2 separate regions of the Homo sapiens genome follow, and region 2 is linked to region 1. The links are contacts of gene promoters, found by promoter capture Hi-C in blood cells and fetal thymus (Javierre and others, 2016). All regions are on one chromosome and are shown on one strand. Each heading gives the region's core, a stretch centred on a gene start or on the middle of the fragment in contact. The rest is flanking DNA. Distances are from core to core; before and after follow the strand shown. Region 1 holds the start of RNPC3 (RNA binding region (RNP1, RRM) containing 3). Region 2 holds the start of ZZZ3 (zinc finger ZZ-type containing 3).

Region 1 (5,573 bases), core at 1,045-3,544:
GAGATATTTATCAATCTAAATCATTTAGAAATTGTTATTTTAATTACATACGCAGTTAGTTTTTCTTTATAGATAATCTACTAAAGGACTGGGCAAGATCTGCCAACTGACAAATCAAATGTAGTCTGTTGGGGAAACTGTTGGAATACAAACGCTTTTGCTTCTTAAAAACCACAGTTAAACATTATCTGAACCAAGATTGTATAAGAGGATCCTGTTGACAACTTTAATCGTCAAGAAAAAGTCATACCTTTATAGCTGCTTTTTCATTAGGGAATGTGGCAAAAGCTGTATGTTTCTGAAACAGAGTTAAGGTACAAATTACTTCCAATATAATTTCAGTTTCTCACAAAGAAATCTGACTTTTTACCAGTGGAGTAATGTGACATGTTAATAAAATCACGGGAAAGGATGAAAACTCAAGACCATTTAACTGATTACTAATTTCAGTCCAGTGGTTTTCAATACTTTTTGAGTCAGACTTGAGATGAAAGCTATGCAACCTCTATCATATAAAGACACACGTTTTACACATGCAAATAGTTCAAAAGACCAAAAGTTTAAAGACCTGTTCTACACAGAGGGTCACTTTTAACCAACTAAAAATTTATTTCCTTCATTTATGACAGATCTAAAGATTTTAAACTTTCCTCTATACATAACAATGCGTAGTTTAAAAACATTCACCAACAGAGAAATCGTTCTTCAAGGTGCATATTTCCTTTGTGCTTTATCTTTGTAATAATGTTCAATGGGAGAAGTCTATTTTTAAACATAAATTATACGGATTTTAAAAACCATCAGAAAAGAAACACAAATCAACAGTAAAAGAATCACTATGCTAAGGAAGAGCTCTGGTCAATGCTTATTAAAAGTTACTTTAATAATTATATCGCACATTCTAATTTTGTCTAATCTGATACACGATGACCTGATGTACTTAAATTGAGCCATATATAATTTTTTTTTTTTAATTTGCAGGCATAAGTGACATTTAAACTGATCAAAATTGGTCTTTCTTCTAATTCAGTAACTCTCAACTTGGGCTGCACATTAACATTAAAATCACCTAGGGAAACTTTAAAACCACTGAGTCTTGCACCATCGCTATTCCTATTTTAATGAAGAGAAATCTAAAATATCTTTGGATATAAAGCAAAACAAAGTAATTGTGTAAATTCCTACACAGGTACTCTTAACAGCCCTAAAAAATTGTTCCCTAAAAGATGTCATCGGGAAATTTTTATGAAAAGCCTCTTTTTCTAGTTGAAATTCTGCATTTAATTTACGCAAGTCACCAATGTAGCTTCTCCTCTATTTTAATGAACGATTTAACATTGGCTTATAAATGAAGTAGGACTTTAAAAAATCCCTTGATGCACATTTGTAAGAATACTCTTGAGTCCAGGAGAAATAACCCCAAATTCAAAAAAGTTGTGAGGCTCTCAGGATGGATCCGAAAACTCAATATAACTAAGCTAATTTCCATTCTTCTGCTTTGTCGTTCTCACTTGCCCTTTTCTGCAGTGCTATGACTAATCCAGACTCGAGCCGATTAAAACTCCACTTCGCAGAGCAGATATTTTGATAAAAAAGAGGTAGGATGGGGGAGCTCTCATCACACAAGTCCATCTTCCCCACTCGTTTCCATTTTACTCTTGTCAGCGCTCCCCCTCCCCGGTCACTTCCCAAATGCCTTCCCGGGAGACTCCGGAGGGGCGCGCCCTTACCAGTCGCCCCTTATCTGACAGGACCCGCACAGACTGAGCCCCGAAGTACTTCAGCAAGTCCTCTTTCTCCTCAGCAGTAAGCTCAGCCGGCAGGTGCCTGACCAGAAGGGTTCGGTCGCCCCGAGGCGGGGAAAGCGAGGAGGAGCTCGTGCATCCCCTTGATATCGCAAGCGGCTGCTCGGGAGCTGCCATTTTCCTTGGAGAAGCAAAAACAGAAATCGTGGGAAGAAGTCTCAGTCAAAATCGCGGCATCAACACAAGCTGGGAGAAATATTTTTTCCGCCTCGCGCTAAGGATTCTGGAAACCAGGAAATACCGAGAAAGAAAGTCACCTTCTCGCGAGAACTGCGCCACCGAAAAGCGGCAACCCTTCGAAGACTCTTCGGGGAAGGGCGCGGTGCTAATGATTTAAATTCCAGGGGTCTCCGGAAAGACTTACAAGCAAAAATTGGCCCAGAGATGTGCGAGGGTTAACACAAGTTGTCAATCAAAGAAGGAAACAGGAACCCCAGCCACTTCAGGGAAAGAAGGTTGACGCTCAAGGACAAGAGGACTCACGACTGCGCATGTGCGGGCTGGGACCGTCACAGGGCGGGGCGGGGCGCACGGCGGGGCGGGGCGCACGGCGGGGCGGGGCGCACGGCGGGGCGGGGCGCACGGCGGGGCGGGGCGCACGGCGGGGCGGGGCGCACGGCGGGGCGGGGCGCACGGCGGGGCGGGGCGCACGGCGGGGCGGGGCGCACGGCGGGGCGGGGCGCACGGCGGCGAGCGCTATCTGGAGCTGACCGTGCGGCTCTTAATCCCTGGCCTTGGGAAAGTGAATTGGCCTGAATAGCAAGGAGGAGAACTTGGGTGTGGAAATACCGGGTATGTTCTTACAGTATTTAGATGGTAAAATATAAAGCTAGCCAGTTATTCTGTCAACTCATTAGACACCATTGTAGGGAGGAGAACTCAGTTTAAGGGGCAAAACGTTGAGAGTTCAGACTTTTTTCTTGAATCAGTAGGCATTTAGCAGACGGATAGGCCCCTGCCAGGGTTCATTTCGCAGAAATGGCAGCCTCTAGGGAGAGGTAACCTAATAAATAAATTATTGCATGTGTGTGTATGTGTGTGTGTGTAGGGGTGTGTGTGTGTGTGTGTGTGTATGTGTGTGTGTGTGTAGGTGTAGGTACTTTTCTCCCTATTTTACAGCTGAGGACACTGATGTACAAAGAGGTTAAATCACACAGCTAGAAAGTGGAAGAACTAAGTTTTGACCCTTGGTGTTCTGACTGGGGGTCTACATTCTAATCCACTGTTCTGCCTAGATTCTGAATGGAGTGAGGCAGGGATCATCCCCGGAGGGTCAGGAATGTACCCCTCACCCCATACAGAGAGGGCCTTGAGGATTCTAAAGAGAGGTTTTATGCTAGATGTAGCTGCTACAGTCTGGAGAACCAGAGTTCCTCTTACAGTTCTTTTTGCCACTTAAATAAATGTTAGAGATACAGCAGTAAGCAGTATACCAGCAATCTGCTGTCATCCCGCATTGGTTGGGGAAAAGGAGAGAGACAGATATTAATGAAAACTAGAAGACAAACATGAGAAGAACCTTCCCCACACACCCACCAAAATATCAGATAGGTAGAGCCAGACCACGTAGACGCTGTAGATTTGTTAGGAGCCCTTTTTATTTGAGGAACATTTAGAAACTGACAAATTCTTTAAGTAGGTGTGTGTTGAGGGGAGAGAATCAAAGTTTAGGTATGAAAATTTCTCCGGTTGCAATGCAAAAAACAGAAGCAGAAAGACCAGTTGGACTACTGTAGAAGTCTGGAGAAAAACACTACCATAATAGTTTGGTGAAAGTGGACATGTAGAGAAGGAACTGGAATTGAGATACGTTTTAGAAGTAGTTGATAGGAACTTGCAGATGAAGAATAGTAAGCAAGGATAAATTCTGGATTTTTGGCTTAAGCTAGATATTATCCATCTGTAGATGATGATGCCATTTACTGAATGTGAGAAGATTGACCAAGTATAGCTAGGTTAGAAACTGTAGTGGGACATTGGGAATAGAGGAACATATATTAAGTTTAAGGTATCTATTCAGTATCCCTGTTTCAAGTAGGAAGTTGAATGTGTGTGTTTGGCATTCTTGGGAAAGGTTACCACGAGGTATGGCATCAACCTATATGGTATTTATATCTGAAGAATGACAAAGGGTATAGATAGAATTGTGCCCATAATGGAGTCATGGGACATGCAGATGTTGAGAAGTTGAGGCAAGGAAGAAGAAGAAGACAATCAATTCCTGCCCTCTCAATGCTTACTTTCTAAAATCAAGACAGAATAAATATGTAAATAAAGTTCTTTTCAGAGAATAATAAGTGCTTTGGAAAAAATAGGGTAGTGTTATAAACCGATTGGAGTGGTCATGCTATTTTAAACACTATCCTTCAGCGGCTTTTTTGTGTGTGTTCTTTGAAGACTTGTTTGGAGCTTCTAGCAAGGGAGCACTGCTACACGTATGCCCTTACAGAAAAATCATCCTCCTTTATGGGGGTAAGTCATCCTCCTCAGCCGAGTGGGCAGCTTTGGAAGAGACATATATGGGGCAGTTAGGAAGGAAGGGGAACCCAGCTAGTTAGCCAGATCAGCCAAATCAACTGTTGGGATCAGTTGGTGACAGGTGTCATGCAAAATGACCGTCACATCCTCCCTGTGACTCTTATGTTTAGTAAAATGTTCCAGACATAGTGCACATTCTGTAAATATCTATTCAATGAATGAATGCATGAAGGAATTCACTTTTATATTTACCACTGCCTCCTACGGTTAGGAATTACTACAGGGGCTATCAGGCAGAGTTTAATGGTCATTATCTACTGTAATTCAGGTATCATGACTGAGTGGAATAGTTACATGACAGAATTTTATTTTCTCTCTACTTAATTGCTTTTAGTTGTACTCAATGAAATCTACCTTATCCTTTCCTTGACAATATCTCAGGTAGAGGTCATAATTTTCTAGTCACTTTCAGTTGCTATCAGTACAGTTGGTTAGAGATGTCAAGTCCAAACTCCATTAAGGTGTCTCTTCTTACACTCCCCTCATATCAGGCTTGACCTAAAGGATTGCAGGAATATGTAATACACTCTAATCTTTTCTGTGTCTGAGTGTAGGTATGTGTGGTCGTATCTGAGAAGTACCTTTCTCATTCCCTCCTCTTTGTCTAGCCCAGAAGTTGCCAAACTTTTTCAGTTATTGGTAGCTTTATTGTCCCAGCAGTTTTTTCTAGCACCCCTTGATGCCACCTTATTTCCTATTCCACTCTGGTTTTCCAGGAAGCACTTGTTTTATATGAGAGCAACAGCCAAAAACCCAGCTTTTCAAATATATGACATTCTTAAAAGGAATTAAACAGTATCTAATGTTCAAATTGAGAAACATCTCAAGCTGGTAGTTCAGGTAGTGTCTGGTAAACAGTGAGTATTGCTATGTTTCCCTCAAATATTTAAAATATCCTATAGTACCTCTATAAGGTGGCAAGGGTACCTGGGGCACCTTAGCACAGTTTGAGAACTGTGAATTTAACTCATTTTCAGTCTTGATTTTCTATGTTGGGGAATGGGAGGCGGGAAAAGTAGTGGAGCTTGGGAGTGTCTGACTTCACTGAGCAATTGTTGGTTCTTTATCTCATTCTTATTCTCAGGGGTTTTGTGTGTTGATGGAGGTCCCCGCTAATGTGGTGGTTTTCTTGGGTTAATTTTCATCTTCATCAGTTCCTCCATGTTACTGAGTACCTTCTCAGACAGAATTACCTTTTTTGCTTCCTTTGGTTTATGTCCCTAGTTTTCC
Region 2 (6,056 bases), core at 773-3,272, about 26 Mb after region 1:
GCCTCCCCCACCCCCGTTTTTTTTTGACATACTGCCACCCAGAAACACTAGTATGTTCAATAAATACTTGATGTGTTAAAAACATGTAACCCTTTTTCTTGAAGTAGATGTTACTTTGAGTTGAACTCAAAGCTAAAATACAAAACACCATTTAAAACATTTAATAACTTTTATTAGCAACATAAAAGAAGGCACAACACGTATCCACTTGCCCGAAAAAAAAAATAGTGTTGCAAAGGAAAACAAAAGTAATGAAACAGCACTGGACAATTGTCAAAGAAGAGCCCCAGTTAACGGCTTCTACCACTGGATTTTATATTTTTGGAACATAATCTTTATAGCCACGGAAGGAGGTTTAGCTGTTTTTCCACAGCTCATAAATGATGAAGTTATTTATCTTCATTAATGTGTGTTGGGCTTTATTTTCCTACATGCTCAATATAGTTGGTAGATCTGTTTTGATATTACTGAGCACTGCTTTGTGCCAGACACAATTCTGGGGATACAGCAATGAGCAAAACAGTTTACTAAGTCCCTGCTTTTAAAAATTTTACATTTCTGGTGGTGAGGATACTGACAAATAAGGTCTGGAAGTTGTAACTGTTATGAAGAAATAAAAGCAGGTGAAGAGTTAAAGCAATGGTGCAGGTGTACTTTTTTTGGATACAGTGGTCTGGGCAGCCCTCTGAGAAGGGACCTGAAATATGCATCGAACATCGAGGAGTTAAAAAAAATCTGGAGGAAATGTTCTGCCAGAGAAATCGGCAAGCACAAAGGCCCGAAGTGGTTCGAGCCTGCGTGCTGTGGTACAAGCCAGAGGTGAACGAGGCGAGGCAGAAGCACGATCATAAATACATGTATGGATGTTCTCCTGGCTTGAGACCACAGTGCTAAGGGAGGTGGGGTTTACAAATCTCTCAGGAGGCCACAAAGGGCAGGATGAAGCCGATTTCCAATGGCGGAGCTACGAGGACGCCTTTCCTCTGCTAGGGCCAGGTTGGACGGTTGCAAGGGATGGACTGCAACCCGCCCTCGGAAGACCAAACTTCGCCCAGGGGCAGGGACTGGCCGGGGAGGGCCTCGGCGGCGCCCGACCCGCGGGCGCTGCACGGGCCGCGGTTACCAGCAGGCGGTGTAGTGAGCGCGCCTGCAGCAGCAGCAACAGCAGCAGCAGCGGTCGCCGCCGCCGCCGCCGCCCGCCAGTCCCAACGAGGAGAAAGGAGGGGACCGGAAGGAGCCGCTGGTGCTGCGGGAAGTGGCAGGAGCGGGAGGCGGGGACCCACCTGGAAGCGCCGCGGCGCCGCTATCGAGCTTCCTGCAGCGGTGGCCACCCGAGCAAGTGCCGTGGCGGGGGCGGAGAGCGGCCACGGCGGCGGCGCCTCCCCAAGTGGCCCGTTGCGTCCGACCCCGCGTGAAAGGTGAGCAAGAGCTCGGGACACGTGGTGAGGGCCAGACACGGGGGAGGGAGAATGAAGGGGGAGGGAATGGGGGTGGGAAACGATCGGCTTGGGACCCGGATTTGGAGCCAAGTACCGGGAGGGGGTGGGCTGGAGGCGACGACTGCGACGGCTGCGACGGCTGCGACGGCGAAGCCCCCACGTGGGGCGGGGGTGCGCGCGCACGTGTGCGCGGGCGAAAGGGGGGGCGGGGAGGGCTTTTGGGAGGGCGTCGGGAGCGCGCTCGCTCAGTAGCGGCCCACGTGACGGGCACGCCGAAAATGTTTCCACGTGACAGGGAGGCTGCCTGGGGCAGCGCACTGCGCTCTGTTTATGTAGTATAATCGTGGTAATCGGAGGTTTTTAAGATTTCTGCTTTTCTGTACAAGGGGAAAGGAGGAGACGTATAAAGCGGAAAGACTTCCTACTGTCTCAGTGTTTTAAATGTTCACTACTCCGTTAGTGAAGTGCTTTTTAAGTTCCGAAATACTGATTTTTTTCTGTACCGCCATGTTGGGTCTAGTGGAAGCTCGCGAGATGCGAGTGGGTTTGTATCGCGAGATCTCTCGATTCTCGCGGGACCTCGTTGGCAGAGCAGTTGTCCTGGATGGCGGAGCCTTGGGTTCCGGGGGCCTGGGACCTGCAACTCTTTCTACAAGGCAAGTCGTTAGGGAGGGGCCCGGGGCGAGTGCCTCTTGGTGCCGGGATACGTGCTGCATCAGCTTCCCATAGTCTTGAAGGGAATACAGTAACCCCATTGAGGCAACACTGCCCTCCCCATCCCCCTGCGGGCGCTCCACCACCTGCAAAAGCATATGCACCCCTCAGCCAGGTCCTTCTCCCCACGCAGTGATAGTTCCACCCTGTCCCACTCACTGGAAGTCCGGGAGCCGTGCTCGCGCAGACCTGATGATTCCATTGGATACCGTTCCTCTTACTTTAAGATGTTCTTGTCAGTTTTTCCCTTCTTGCCATTTTCTAAAGTATTCCAGACCGGTTAACTATTGTGTCGCGTTTTCTGCTGCAGTACCTGACTCCAGTCTCCTGAAACAGAACTCCTCCCATCTATTTTCTCTGGGTGTCATTTACTCATCACCCTGACTTCGTATTTTCAGTAACTTTTGGCAGTATTTGGAGGGCCCATTATGTCTCTGACAACACCTGTGGTCAGAATAAAATCCTGCTTTTCATCATTTTGTACGTGCCTATTAACTCAGTTATCGGTAGGGTTTTAATTACTACTGTGTTACTGAGGTTGCCATCTTTGAAGTTTAGGGATGGTTGTTTTAGGTTATATATTTAAGGTAACAGACTGTTTCATGTGATTTTTTTTTTTTTTTTTTTGAGACGGAGTCTCGCTCTTGTCGCCTAGGCTGGAGTGTAGTGGGGCGATCTCGGCTCATTGCAACCTCCGCCTCCCGGGTTCAAGCGATTCTCCTGCCTCAGCCTCTCGAGTATCGAGTAGCTGGGATTACAGTCGCGCTTCACCACGCCCGGCTAATTTTTGTGTTTTTAGTAGAGACGGGGTTTCACCATGTTGGCCAGGCTGGTCTCAAACTCCTGACCTCAAGTGATCCACCTGCCTTGGCCTCTCAAAGTGCTGGGATTTCAGCACTGTACAGGCGTGAGCCACCGCGCCCGGCCTCAGGTCAACTTTTTAGTAAAGAGCAAACTCATAAATTTTGGCATCAGAGTTTGAGCTTTATTTTTCTTAAATGAGTTTGAAATCAATTTAATATTTCTCTCCAATTCCCTAATGTCTCAGAAGTGAATTTACAGTATACCTTTGTTTTTTCGTATTCTTAAGTAGTATTTGGATTTTATTTAGTAGTTGCAGTACTAAATAAGGAGTGGGGAGTTAATTACAAAACGAATCAGGTGACTAGTTAATTTATTCATAGTTTGTTTTTTAAAACTACAAAAGTGTTTTTTTTTCCTATACATAATACAGAGAGGTATATAGTATAGAGTAACACAGTGCTTGTTTCACGGTACCACAAAGTTCCATTCCTCAGTCTTAAATCTCTGTAACCAGCCTTTGTGGTTGCTGTGTATCATTCCAGATATTTCCATATTTTGGTTTAGTTTTTGTTTCTTAAATGAAGGGGAGAAAGTGTTGTTTTAATGGGGTACCAACACAATATTGGCAATCAGTAAACATTTTTTAACTAAATTAAATTTTTATTTAGTGATATATGCCTGTTTGTCAAGACTTACGTATGCATACTTACGCAGATTTTTTTTGTTTGTACTGATTTTTTTGGTAGTATAATCTTGTGAAAATATCACAAGTAACTTATTTTTGCAGTAAAGTTGATTTATTGTGCTTGGTAGCTTTGCACAGAAAGAAAGTACATGTAAAACAAGATTTAAATAAATTAATGTTTTATCACTTGAGTTTTATATTTTTATCTTTAATGTGTGTTATGTATTTAACTTTATATATTATATATTCTAAACTGTAACCTAACTATATAGGAGTTTTTCAGACGTTTTAAAAGTTTATCACTGTGATTAAAATGATAGTTTGACCATGCAACTTAGTGATCTCAATTGGAGAGTGGTAGACATTAGTAGTTAGTACAAACAAAGGTATATATACTTGAAGTTGCTAAGCGGCTATCATTTTGTAAGTGTTGTTTTTGTAATTTCCCCCCGCCAAACCTACCAGTAATAATATTTATCAGACCAGTCACATAAGAGAATTGTCCACTCTTTGGGCAATGTGGTTTTTTGTTGTAACAGTGCAAGTAGAAATGTTGAGGAATAGAAGTGAGTGTTGAGAGGTATGATGTTGGAAAGAGGAAAAGGGGACATTGGGAGTGTAGAGGTTGATACTGAAATGGAATTGGACAAGTTGGGGAGAAAAGAGGAATGTAGAAGGTTGACAGTGAGGCAAGAGCCATGGTGCAAGAATAGTCAGGCTCATAATAGTTGGAGGACAGCCCGAGTCGGTATTTGAGGCAACTTTCTCCTCCTATTCTTTTTTAGATAGTTCTGGGTCTATTCACAGAATTGCTAGATATTTCCTGTCATAAAAGTCAGCAGCTTAAGGTTATACTTAATTGAAACCTTGTGAATTCTTTACTTTAGATAAAGCTATTCTGTTAAATAACATTTGTTAAGTACGTTTTATTATTATTTTTAGAAGTGGGAAATTGTGAAAATGACAATGAGTTTGAAGGTCACAGTTCTACAATGGCCTTTGCAAAGGTATCTACATAAGTTTAGCTTGGTAACTGGGCCTTTAATAGTCCACGTGCATCTGATCTATGAAATAATATATGTTCCTTGTTCTTAGAACTTTTGTTTTATAAACTTTTCAGTATTGGGTCTTGGGAAATACCAGTCTTTTACAGACACGAAATTATTTGAGGTACTTGGTAGAAATATACTGAGAAAAATCCAAGGAAGAGGAAAAATGTATTTTTACATGGTTTGTGTTTGGTTGAGTAAAATTTAAATAACCAAGAAATTTAATTTTCACTTTTCTCAATTATTACGGTCATATAAATGATGAGAGCTAATGAACTTCAGTGATCAGAGGAAACTATTAACAGTGATAATATAATAATACTGATTTATTCTCACTTGAGTTTTTTCCTTAAGGTCTGACACCATGCCAATTTCCACAGACCTGTAACTTTAAGTTACCTTAAGCTGGGCCTGGTGGCTCACGCCTGTAATACAAGCACTTTGGGAGGCCGAGGTGGGAGGATTGCTTGAGACCAGCAACAACATAGTCAGACCACGTTTCTACCAAAAAAGAAAAAAAATTAGCCTGGTAGTGCACGCCTGTAGTACCAGCTACTTGGGAGGCTGAGAAGGGAGGATTGCTTGAACCCAGAAGGTTGAGACTGCAGTGAGCTGTGATTGCACCATTGCACTCCAGCCTGGGCAACAGAGTGAGTGAGACCCTGTGTCAAAAATAAAATAAAAACACCTAAATTTCATATGAAAATTCAGTTTGGAGTCACCTACAAGAAATAGTTGCTAGAAGAGTTTCATTTTTATAGTAGTATTTACTAGAGATTTGGTATATACTCTGGTGCAAATTTCTGTAGTTAATGCTCTGATAACCACTATAATTGTACTCTGAAAACCACTCTCAGTAAATATTTCCCAAAGTCCAAAGTCTTGATTATTTTGTTTGACCCTTTCGTTCTCACCTTTCTGTTTTTCTTTTCAGCTGATTTTTCTCATTTATGTAGGTAATTTTTGTCTTATTAGAGAGGAGTGAGTTGACTAACTTGCCTTGAGGAGAATATCACTTTGTGATTAATCAAACTATTCAGATATTATTATTACTGTTGTTTTGGAACTTCAGTATATTTGTAAGTTAGAGGCAGTAATTCAGCTGACATTTATTGCTAATGACCTCAGCCATTTGAAACATAACAGCAATCCTGGACATAAAAAAATCTCTAAGCCTTCAAAATGACTGCAACCAAGTATAATAAGCCATTAGCCTTTATTAGGAAACTACTAATTGGAATTAGTCCACAGATAAAAATCTTCAGTGTTGGCCATTGGAGTTAGGGACATTGGCAGCTGAAATGTCATCTACAGGGGAAAAGGAAGAACTATTAAAAAGTAGGTGGAACTATAGTAGAATAGTGT

The links. The method cuts DNA at HindIII sites, captures the fragments that hold promoters and counts their contacts. A CHiCAGO score of 5 or more calls a contact.
Region 2: the fragment with the promoter of ZZZ3 here is called in contact with the fragment with the promoter of RNPC3 in region 1 in 1 of 17 cell types (naive CD8 T cells); the score reaches 5.8 in naive CD8 T cells.

What each region holds. Positions count from the first base shown.
Region 1 is chr1:103,522,420-103,527,992 of GRCh38, reverse strand. It overlaps RNPC3 (RNA binding region (RNP1, RRM) containing 3), which reads right to left and starts at 2,294. Exons shown (of 15, transcript NM_017619.4): 1 at 1,731-2,294; 2 at 251-298. The coding sequence starts at 1,922. It overlaps RNPC3-DT (RNPC3 divergent transcript), which reads left to right and starts at 2,485. Exons shown (of 4, transcript NR_168321.1): 1 at 2,485-2,597. It also overlaps the pseudogene RN7SKP285. RefSeq lists an enhancer at 1,843-2,082 and a silencer at 2,403-2,502. The HindIII fragment of the contact is 7,657 bases long and covers 1-5,573 here.
Region 2 is chr1:77,678,624-77,684,679 of GRCh38, reverse strand. ZZZ3 (zinc finger ZZ-type containing 3) reads left to right here and starts at 2,022. Exons shown (of 15, transcript NM_015534.6): 1 at 2,022-2,095. RefSeq lists enhancers at 767-866, 296-1,069, 1,887-1,966 and silencers at 1,017-1,076, 1,087-1,506. The HindIII fragment of the contact is 10,120 bases long and covers 1-6,056 here.